3 separate regions of the Homo sapiens genome follow, and all the other regions are linked to region 1. The links are contacts of gene promoters, found by promoter capture Hi-C in blood cells and fetal thymus (Javierre and others, 2016). All regions are on one chromosome and are shown on one strand. The core of a region is centred on a gene start or on the middle of the fragment in contact, and the rest is flanking DNA. Distances in the headings are between cores, read along the strand shown.

Region 1 (3,510 bases), core at 460-2,959:
TCAGTCTGTTAATCAGTCCCTACCCCCGACACACAAATCCATCTAATAGTTAAATCTTCCTCACCCCTTCCTCTTCGTCCATTTCTTAGAATCTACCCTTCTTCACAAGCTCACTTGCTCAGGTGCTCTGCAATATAGAAACTGTCATAATAACTATACTAAAGTAGGACCCCAAGAAGCTACTCGTGCCACAAAAGCTCTCTAGTCTCCCTGACAGCTCTCTATGCTGAGGGAATTTGCATCACTTACATAGAGCGTACCCCGCTGGTAGATAACTGAGTTTGCTTCTCTATGACCTCTAGCTAAAGGGAAAACAAAACGAAACCAGACAGGAAGACAGAGATGTTCTGGAGAAGGGATTGGGATACGTGAGTCAACTGAAGTTGACTACTTCCAGTTGACAAGTTTACAAAAAAAAAAAAAGTCCAACGAAAGGTCTCTCGGGCCACATGGTTGGCAAGATCCAAGCTTGCCCAGAAGGCTTCAGAAAATGAAACCAAATCTGATTAAAATGGACATTTCAAAACAACAAGACACGCAGCAGCAAACGCACAGCTGCCATTTCCCGGCCACTTCCTGCGGGAGGCTGGGGGAGGGGCTGTTTGTGTACAGATAGAGGTGGAAAGCTATCCCCTCCGTCGTCCCCCAAAGCAGACAAATCTCTCACTCCAATTAACCCTACAAAGGACAACTGCTATTGACATTGCCTTCTCCTGAAAACTGGGAACACCGGGAAAGAAAGGGATGATGCGGTATCATCTTTCTGCCACGGAAGCGGGGATCCCCTCAGTGAGGAATCTCCTTGGAAAAAGGAATTCCTCTTTATTCTTCCCTTCTGCCCCTCAGCCCAGCTCAAATTGGAAAGCCTCAGCGGAAGCCCTATCAACCTCCATCCCCGGAGTGCGCGATTCTCCCGGGACGCGAGGGCCCCAAGCCAAGCGCAGCACCACCCTCAGCAAGGAAGGCCCTCTCCTGATCTTCACGCTCAAGAGAATGGGTGCGCTCCCCGAGGGAGACACCCTCAGACCCCTGGAAACCCCTTCCGCCCTCCACTCACCACAGTCAAAACGCCCAGCTCCCCGCAAACGGAGCGTTTTAACCCGCCAAGGGAACCCCCTCACCCACCCCTCGCGCTCAGGCAATCCCCACCCCCACCCGAGGAGGTGGAGCCCCTCCCGGGGATTCCACCCCAAGTCCCCCACAGGAGTCATCTCCACCAGCCAGGCGGCTTCTCCGCCTCCTCACTGTCGCCGGGAGCCCCTACAGCTCCTCCTGCCCCCGCGGCCCCGTCCGGGGTCCTCAGCAGCCCCACCAGCCCTGTTCTCCTCCCAGACCCCAGAGCAAGGAGACCCTCGCCTCGGGTTGGATCCTCGCAGGAAATAAGCTCCCGTCGGCTTCCCGCCCCGGCAAGGCTCAAGCCGGCTCTGGAGCTTCTGTTCCCCGAGGGAAGCCTCGGATGAAAGCGGGGCTCCCTCCCCCTCAGGCCCCTGGCCACAGACCCCACAAACCTGAGGCAGCGGCGTCCAGCCGGGCTCGGGGCTCGTCTCTCCCCGGGGTACAAGCGGTTCACATGGCCGCGCTCCGGGCGCCAGAACGGGTGGAGACGCCCGCTGGGGAGGGGGTCTGGGGTCCGGGGTTCGGGAAGGGGGAGGGGGACGCGGCTCAACCGCGGGGCCCGAGAGGAGCCAACATGGCCGGCGGGGGAGGAGTGAGTCGGAGCCGGAGGGGGCGGAGAAGCCTCGGCCGGGAGAGAGTCTCCCCACGCGGCCTCCGCCACAGGGTCCTAAAGCCCGCCAGCCCATCTTTCCGACCCGGACCTGGGTCCTAGCGCCGCTGTGCCTCCTGCAACTCTGGCCACCTTGCCCACCTGGCAGCTCCCTCTGCACCCGCATCTCATGGAGGCAGTGGTCCTGCTTCACACAGGGCAAACTGAAAGGCATGCCACAGTCCCAAGGTTAACTTAAAAGACTAGACCAAACGTCTAGGCCCAAAGGCAGGTGCCACTTCTCTAACAGGCTGGTAGGGGTAAGAGTCAGGGGAATTTCGGGGGCAGTTATTTCCCAGGTAGGGTAATGGAAACGTGGAAATAGAAAGGTTAGTCACTCAGGTCGCGATTCAGTAAAGGGATGGGGAGAGGCAAGAGTCAGCCACCCACTCACCTCTGTCCCTTCAGTGCAGCCTGGTCCTGCCTGGATCACCACTTTCCTGGCGACATCTGCAGGGCCCTGGTCACCGGAAAGGAAAGATTCCTGTGCGTGGGGGAAAGAAGGTTCGGCTCTGGAACCAGACAGCAAAGACCTGAGTGTAGCCTAAATGCAGTCAGAGAAGTAAAGGATAAGCTGAAAACTAATCAGCAAAAAGATGCCACAAATGTCCACCCATTCTATGGTTCTGGGAATTTTTTTCTGACAGGGCTACATAACTGTGTGAAAACTCAGAAAAGTAAAATCTAGCAGAGGACTAGAGTTTGGCTGTCACCTAAAATGTCCACTGCAGGGCACCAGGATGAAGAACAGTGTCATATGATGTTAGAGCTTAGAGAATTTCTAGTTCAGGCCGGACGCGGTGGCTCACGGCTGTAATCCCAGCACTTTGGGAGGCCGAGGCAGGTGGATCATGATGTCAGGAGTTCAAGACCAGCCTGACCAACATGATGAAACCCGGTCTCTACTAAAAATACAAAAATTAGCTGGGTGTGGTGGCGTGCCCCTGTAATCTCAGCTACTCAGGAGGCCGAGGCAAGAGAATCGCTTGAACCTGGGAGGTGGAGGTTGCAGTGAACTGAGATCGCGCCATTGCACTCCAGCCTGGGTGACAGAGGGAGACTCTATCTCAAAAAAAAAAAAAAAAAAAAATTCTAGTTCAACCTTCTCTCCTTCATCAAATGAAGAAATTAAGACCCAAAGAGGTTCAATGACTTCTTCAATGTCAAACAGTGGATAAAATATGACAAGAAAGGAAACCAGGTTTCCTTTCCTTGCAACTCAACACTTTGCAGCCTTGAAGATAATTCCCATTTAATTCAATGCAATGCAGTTCTAGAAACAGTTGCCTAAACTGTGCAAAGCTCAGGCTGCTGAATATTCTGGAAAAGCAACAGAGTGGGGATGATGAAACTCTGGCAAGTTGGGGTGTCAACAAATACGTTTTCCTCTGGGGGTCTGAGGAGGAAAGAGATCTGAAAAATGGGCAGAGTTGGGGGGTGAGATCCATCAGTCTACATTGGATTTCCTTACTCCACAGAGGGGTGGGCTCTTCCTGAATTTTGGGGAAAGACTCCACCCCTCCACCCCCCCACTACAAATGGCTCAGAGAGGATAAGAAGGAAGCTAGCTTTAGCAAAGGCTCACAGAGTGTGTGGGCCACAGACACAGAAGGCTAAGGGGGTTTCTCTTCCTCTCTCGAGATAAGTAGATTACCAGTGGAGGGAATAGGCAGGTGGAAACCAAAACCCTTCTCTCCTCCCTGTCAAAACAACAGATTTACAGGTCACCTTGGGGAAAAAAAAAT
Region 2 (3,510 bases), core at 724-3,223, 1.3 Mb after region 1:
AATTGTTATGACAAAAAGACAAAGACATAGAATCAACCATTAACCTAAGTGTCCACCAACAGATGGTTAAAGAAAATGTGGTTATGCATACACCACGGAATACTATGCAGCCATAAAAATAATGAAATCATGTCTTTTGCAGCAACATGGATGGAGCTGGGGGCCATTATCCTAAGTGAAATAACTCAGAAGCAGAAAATCAAACACCCCATGTTCTCACTTATAAGTGGAAGCTAAAGACTGAGTGCACGTGGACATACAGAGGGGAATAATAGACACTGGGGACTCCAAAAGTGGGGAGAGTGGGAGGGGAAGGGTGAGGGTTGAAAAATTAACTATTGGGTACAATGTTCACTGTTTGGGTGATGGGTACACTAGAAGCCCAGACCTCACCACTACACAATATATCTGTATAATAAACCTACACATAAACCACCTGAATCTATGTATTAAAAAAGAAAGCATGAAAAAAATCCAAATAGTATTTCAAATGTATATAGGCTATGGTCCATTTCTAGGCATATCTAGCCTGCCTTCAGTATTCCAAACTAATCACACTGAATTGTAATGGCTTAGTTTTCCATATGTGTGTTTTAGTTCAATAACTGGATTGAAAGCTAGTTGTGTGGTCCTAGATAAATTATTGAATTTTGCTGAGCCCACTTTATCTGCAAATTAGAGATAATACTTACTTTGCAGGGTTGTAGTGAGGATTGGAAATAATGTATCCAAGGTGAATTTAATTAAAAAGTAGTTACTTTTTTTTTGACTTCTGGCTTTAATAGTCTATGTACATAGGAGTTGTTTGTATTTTTATAATATTCCAGATGAATGACTATCCTAGCATCCCACTCAATTTAGATATTGAGCATCTATGACACATAAAGCACTGTTCATAACCCTAAAGGCCTGCTGAGCCTATATTTTTCAGATATGTTTCTTACATAAACCACATGCTGCTCTTCATCTTTAGCAATTTTCTTAGTCATGTGTTTCCTCAGTCTCTTACACCTTGCCTGGCCCATCATAGTAGGTGCTGAATAAATGTGTGAGCTGAGTGGAATAATTTAGTAGGAAAAGAGAAACACACAAATTGGATAAAACCTGGCAGGCTACGATGAAAATGATTAACAGGTACAAAGTGCTTTGTACATTGGGAGATCAGGAGACATTAATTTTGATTAAGGTATCTGGGAATGCCCTGTGGAGTAGGCAGATTTGACCTGGGCCCCAATCATAGGGGCTGAGGCAAGGAGCTTAAAGATGGAAATGACAGTATGAGTTAAGGCTGAGAGGTAGAAGTAAACAGGGTGCGCTTTGTTATCAGGGAGTTATTGGTGGGGGGTGGGGCAGAAGAGTAGGGTAAACGAATGGGTACAGGTGGGAAGAAAAAATGTAGTTGGTTCCTACATTTTGAGGATTTTGATGTGACTAGTCATTCTTTATAGTTTTAAAACGTTTCTGAAAAACACTGCTTTCAATATGGCCAGAGGCATCTTTGGGCAGAGTGGATCTGAGGGATGGCAGGGGTCGGGAAAGTGGCGGGCCAGAAATGACAACTGGCTTGCCCCGGAAGAAGGCAGGGAGTGGGAGGATGGCCGAGACCTTCGGCGGCACAAGAGCAGTTAGTGGCCAATATTCGCCCCGAGGTGAGGAAGGAGTGTCTGCGAGGAGGCGGGACACCCTTAGAGCTCAGCAGGCAGCAGGAAGCTGCAGAACAACGCTTATAAAGACATGTCACCCACACTGGGAGGGCAGCAGCGAAATCCGCGGCAGCCGGGTTGTTACAGCCTTTGAGGGAAGTCGCAAGACCCAGCTCCGCCCAACAGCATCGGGCCCCGCGCCCCGCCCCATGCCCTCGCCCCGCCCCTCATCCCTCGCCCCGCCCCTCGCCTCTCGCCCCGCCCCTCGCCTCTCGCCCCGCCTCCCGCGCTCCCCGTCAGGTTCAAAGCCCCCTCCCGCCTAACGTCTTCAGCCCAGCCAGGCTGCCCTTCTTCCCTGCGGAGGGAGGGCCTGGGCGGTCGCGTTGGCGGGAGGGAGGTTACCTTTCCCAGTCTCGCTCTGGCCGCCTGAGCCAGGAGGAAGCAGCGGCGAGGTCTGCGGGAGGCATGGCGGGAGCTCCGGACGAGCGCCGGCGGGGCCCCGCGGCAGGGGAGCAGCTGCAGCAGCAACACGTCTCTTGCCAGGTCTTCCCCGAGCGTCTGGCCCAGGGGAATCCCCAGCAAGGGTTCTTCTCCAGCTTCTTCACCAGCAACCAGAAGTGCCAGCTTAGGCTCCTGAAGACGCTGGAGACAAGTAGGAGCCATGACCTGGAGGCTGTGGTTCCACAGAATGGGTCTGAGACCGGGTGGGCGAGGAAGGGCCTGGGCAACACCTGGCCAGGGGCTTCAGGTTCAGCACAGAGTCTAGACAGACTGGGCATCATGGGGGCTGGGTTGGGAGCCTGAGGCTCAGTTTCCCCACTAGAGGTGGCGCTGAGACCCTTTTCGTCGCTGTTTTTGGCTTGTGGAATGAATTTGTCTGCCCTTTTTTGTCACTCACTGTTGTGACAGATCCTCCGATTTCTTACATAAGTTATGCAGCCACACTGTGACTTCAGGGTAAGGGTGAGGCCAAGTTTTAAAGTGCCAGCCAGGTTAATTAAGGCACACAAAGGCTGTAAAAATGTAAAAATGTAATTAAGGCATACCAAGGCTGTAAAAATATAAAAGCAGTTTTGCAAACCTACCGTTCCTTGGAAGTGGTTCATGCATGAATGGGCTTCAGAGCGTAGAAATCCCTGAAATGGTCTGTGAAATCGTGTGTATGTGTGTGTGTGTGCCCCTAAGTGCATTTTTTTTTTTTTTTTGAGACGGAGTCTCGCTCTGTCGCCCAGGCTGGGGTGCAGTGGCGCGATCTTTGCTCACTGCAAGCTCCGCCTACTGGGTTCACGCCGTTCTCCTGCCTCAGCCTCCCGAGTAGCTGGGACTACAGGCGCTCGCCACCACACCCTGCTAATTTTTTGTATTTTTAGTAGAGACGGGTTTTCACCGTGTTAGCCAGGATGGTCTTGATCTCCTGACCTCGTGATCTGCCTGCCTCGGCCTCCCAAAGTGCTGGGATTACAGGCGTGAGTCACTGCGCCCGGCCCAAAGTGTATTTTTTTTTGGTCGGGGGAGAGAGTTAATAGCTTCATCATATTCTCAAAGAGGCCAACGACCCCACAAAGGTTAAGAACTGCTGTGGGTTAAACAGGGACACAACTGCCCATTGACAAATTTCTCTCCCGTCCCAGAGACATTGCACTAGAGAAGATTTCTTAATTCCTTTACATTGACATAGACTTCTTAAGTTTACTTTCAGATACATTCAGAAAATTAGTCTTAAACATACTTGTCCCAAAGCAAGGTTACTATTTCATAGCTAGTCAGTCACAGTTCAAAAGTCAACCACCGAAAGATTTTCCAACCTTCTTGGGATTACCTGCTTGTAGAGACTCAGGGAGGTAGGAGGAGGAAGGGGAGTTGAGGG
Region 3 (3,510 bases), core at 414-2,913, 1.1 Mb after region 1:
GGTTTTAGTTTCCAAGAGCTCTTTTTGCTTATCCGAATAGTAGTTACTCTCAAGTAGTTTCCTGTTGTTATTTTATGAATGCTCTATAATATCTCTTTGAGAAGTCTGATGATGGATTATTTTTAAATGCTTTGTTGTTTCAGACGGAGTCTAGCTCTGTGGCCCAGGCTGGAATGCAGTGCCGCAATCTCAGCTCACTGCAACTTCCGCCTCCCAGGTTCAATCAATTCTTCTGCCTCAGCCTCCTGAGTAGCTGGAACTATAGGCGCGTGCCACCATGCCCAGCTAATTTTCGTATTTTTAGTAGATACGGGGTTTCACCACGTTAGCCAGGCTGGTCTTGAGCTCCTGACCTCAAGTGATCCGCCCGTCTCGGACTCCCACAGTTTTGGGATTACAGGCGTAAGCCACCGTGCCCGGCCTATTTTTAAATTTTTTATTTTTAGTGTTTTTTCCCCTCCCTTGCAATTTATGTTTCCTCTCATTTGCTTTTCCCTTCTTGTTTGTTTCTTACTTGTATATTAAAGTCCTTCCTTAAATGTCTAATGATCTCTGGCTATTTATTTTGAAGAGTAAGAACACTAAAAAGCTGATTGGAAAGTGGAATGAGGGCTGGGGCACGTAGGCCAAAGTGTTACATGTGGAATTCATTCTAGTTATCTATATCATTAAGAGAACTCTGATAAGGGTATCTTTGGGATTTTTCGTTTTGGCTGGTGAGATTCCCCAGAGAGGGTTTTCCAAAGGTATAATCAGCCTCTTGTTTACCTTTGTTTCGTAATAAATATTCTCAAGTTTGCTAAACCAGTTAACATTCTTCTGTTTGATTTCCAGCTTCCAAAATGTTGCTGTTGTTGTCTCCTTTCCCTTTCTTACGGCCTGGAGAGTAATACATAATTTCACCTTAACTGGAAGCCCATGTATGCATGTATGTATGTATGTATGTATGTATGTATGTATGTATGTATGTACGTACTTATTTGAGACGGGGTTTCGCTGTGTTGCGCAGGCTGCACTTGAACTCCTGGGCTCAGGAGATCCTCCTGCCTCAGCCTCCGGAGTAGCTGATACCACAGGTGCGTGCCACCACGTCTGGCTGCCCGCATTATTTCTCTAGGATTTTTACTGGAGGTCATTTTACTGGAGGTCAACTGCAGGATCGTATAGGAAGGTTTTGACACAAATTTTCTGATTGCCTCAAAGCAATATGTATATATGAAAAGAGGTAAGCGTCCGTATAATAATTGTTTGTTTTGCAACAAGCATTTAATAACTTTCACCGGCACTGCGCACGCTACCTATCTGCCTCAATACTCCGCCCGGCGGTGGGCAGGATATAATGCAAGAGACGTCTGAAAAAGCAATGAGATGCGCATGACAGCTGGGCGAAGACAGAGGGCAAACTTAAAAGGACCAAGCGCATAGACCACGCCTCTGAAATTGGGGAACGAGGAGGGGTTTGATCTTGTCGATGATTGGCTGGTCTCTGACCAATCACGGACAGCGATTGATATTTCTAATCGTCGTGATCCACCTCCCCAGGACCTTGGAGCCACGTTTACAAATAGGAATAGGGTACGTGGGAGGGATAGAACGTACAGCCAATAAAATCATGTGGCGCCGATGGGCGTGTTGAGGCCGCTGCCTGGCTTAGGGCGGAAACAGATTCTCTGCATAAGAAGGGGAACGAAAGATGGCGGCGGAAACGCTGCTGTCCAGTTTGTTAGGACTGCTGCTTCTGGGACTCCTGTTACCCGCAAGTCTGACCGGCGGTGTCGGGAGCCTGAACCTGGAGGAGCTGAGTGAGATGCGTTATGGGATCGAGATCCTGCCGTTGCCTGTCATGGGAGGGCAGGTGAGAGGCGTATAAGGGGCGAGGGTCTGGGCAGAAGAGGAAGCGGGTAAGAGATAGAGGAAGAAGGGCAGCTCCGGAGTCTGGGGCTGGAGCCTACGGGGAATCGGGAAGAGTAGGTATTGCTTTTACGGTGACCCCTGGGGGTCGCAGACTGAGACCAATTCTCTGGGGGCCAGGAATTGGGAGAGGTGGGGCTTCCCGCTGTCAACCTTCAGGTCTCAGTTTATGATCGAAACACCCGGACTCCGCCCCCGTGGAGAAATGGGAGCGCCCTCTCCTCTCACCCACTAAATACAGCTGGAGGGCTTATGGCTTATTCTGTCTTCGACTGATCTCTTCCCCAGGGTTTGAAGAGGGATTTCGTTGTTCTCCCTGATCCCAGCCTTTCTTTGCTTCCTTGCCCCCCGACCCTCCCTTCTTTCCCAGAGCCAATCTTCGGACGTGGTGATTGTCTCCTCTAAGTACAAACAGCGCTATGAGTGTCGCCTGCCAGCTGGAGCTATTCACTTCCAGCGTGAAAGGGAGGAGGAAACACCTGCTTACCAAGGGCCTGGGATCCCTGAGTTGTTGAGCCCAATGAGAGATGCTCCCTGCTTGCTGAAGGTGAAAGGGACTGGGTTAGATAGAATGAGGGCTTGGAAACTAGCAGTTCATCCAAGAACTGGAGTCCACTGAATGAGGCAGGATCTAGGGGACCTGTAGTGGTTAAGAAGACCACTGGAGGAGTAGACAGATTACACGGACAGGAAAGAAGCAAAGAATCCTGCAACCACTGATGACACTTTGCTGAACGTAGGAGCAGGTTAGGATAGAAGATCTCAGAAAAGGGCTAAAGCAAGATTGAGGGTCTGCGTGGGGTAGGAGGAGTACTTCCTTAAGCCTACTTGCTAAAGTCACCCCCTGCCCTATCACTCTGCTCCAGTATCCTGTTTTATTTTCATCGTAGCACTTTTCATGATCTGAAATCATATTTACTGAATCAGTTTGTTTATTTTCGGTCTGATTCCCCGCATTAGAGTGTAAACTCCATGAGGTCAAAGAATTAATCTTGTTCACAGTTGTATTCCCAGTGGCCAGAACAGTGCCAGGAATGTTCAAGAAGTTCAATTAATATTTAATTTTGGGTTCTTCTATGTTTCCCTAATATAATTGCTTCAGGGATACCATAATTTCTTATCTTTATGGAGGGCAAATAAGGATTTAAAAAATCTTTTAAAAGGGAGGAATGGAAAGACCACAAGTGGAAAACAGACTTTAGAGATATCTCTCCAAGTCACAGAAGGAAAGCAGCCCTCCCTCCTTACTGAAAGTCTGGAGAATTGAGAGTGGAAGTGAAGGGAAGAGAATTGAGTGTGTAAGTAGATGAGAGGTTATGTGTCTTGGAGCCAGGAGACTCTGGTTCCAAGAAAAGATGTCTGCACTCCATCCCCCTGATTGTTTATTTTTTAATTGTCAGACAAAGGACTGGTGGACATATGAATTCTGTTATGGACGCCACATCCAGCAATACCACATGGAAGGTAACTCACTCCTATATTTTCCTTAAGCCCTTAGTGTCATATCATGGAAGTTCCCCAGTTCCCTCCTCCTCCTCCTCCTCTTAAGAGTAACAGTGCTTCACTGTGGCTTCCCTTGCAGATTCAGAGATCAAAGGT

What was found. The method cuts DNA at HindIII sites, captures the fragments that hold promoters and counts their contacts. A CHiCAGO score of 5 or more calls a contact.
Region 2: the fragment with the promoter of ATP23 here is called in contact with the fragment with the promoter of BAZ2A in region 1 in 1 of 17 cell types (neutrophils); the score reaches 6.9 in neutrophils.
Region 3: a contact is called between the fragment with the promoter of OS9 here and the fragment with the promoter of BAZ2A in region 1, in 2 of 17 cell types (monocytes and non-activated CD4 T cells). The highest score is 7.0, in monocytes.

Annotation. Positions count from the first base shown.
Region 1 is chr12:56,628,617-56,632,126 of GRCh38, forward strand. BAZ2A (bromodomain adjacent to zinc finger domain 2A) reads right to left here and starts at 1,710. Exons shown (of 29, transcript NM_001300905.2): 1 at 1,509-1,710. RefSeq lists a silencer at 1,297-1,646 and enhancers at 1,867-1,916, 1,947-2,016. The HindIII fragment of the contact is 7,835 bases long and covers 467-3,510 here.
Region 2 is chr12:57,939,594-57,943,103 of GRCh38, forward strand. ATP23 (ATP23 metallopeptidase and ATP synthase assembly factor homolog) reads left to right here and starts at 1,974. Exons shown (of 6, transcript NM_033276.4): 1 at 1,974-2,295. The coding sequence starts at 2,109. RefSeq lists enhancers at 1,843-2,652, 3,109-3,278. The HindIII fragment of the contact is 6,393 bases long and covers 1-3,510 here.
Region 3 is chr12:57,692,469-57,695,978 of GRCh38, forward strand. OS9 (OS9 endoplasmic reticulum lectin) reads left to right here and starts at 1,664. Exons shown (of 15, transcript NM_006812.4): 1 at 1,664-1,855; 2 at 2,282-2,458; 3 at 3,312-3,375; 4 at 3,494-3,510. The coding sequence starts at 1,694. RefSeq lists enhancers at 1,293-1,867, 1,855-1,904. The HindIII fragment of the contact is 11,057 bases long and covers 1-3,510 here.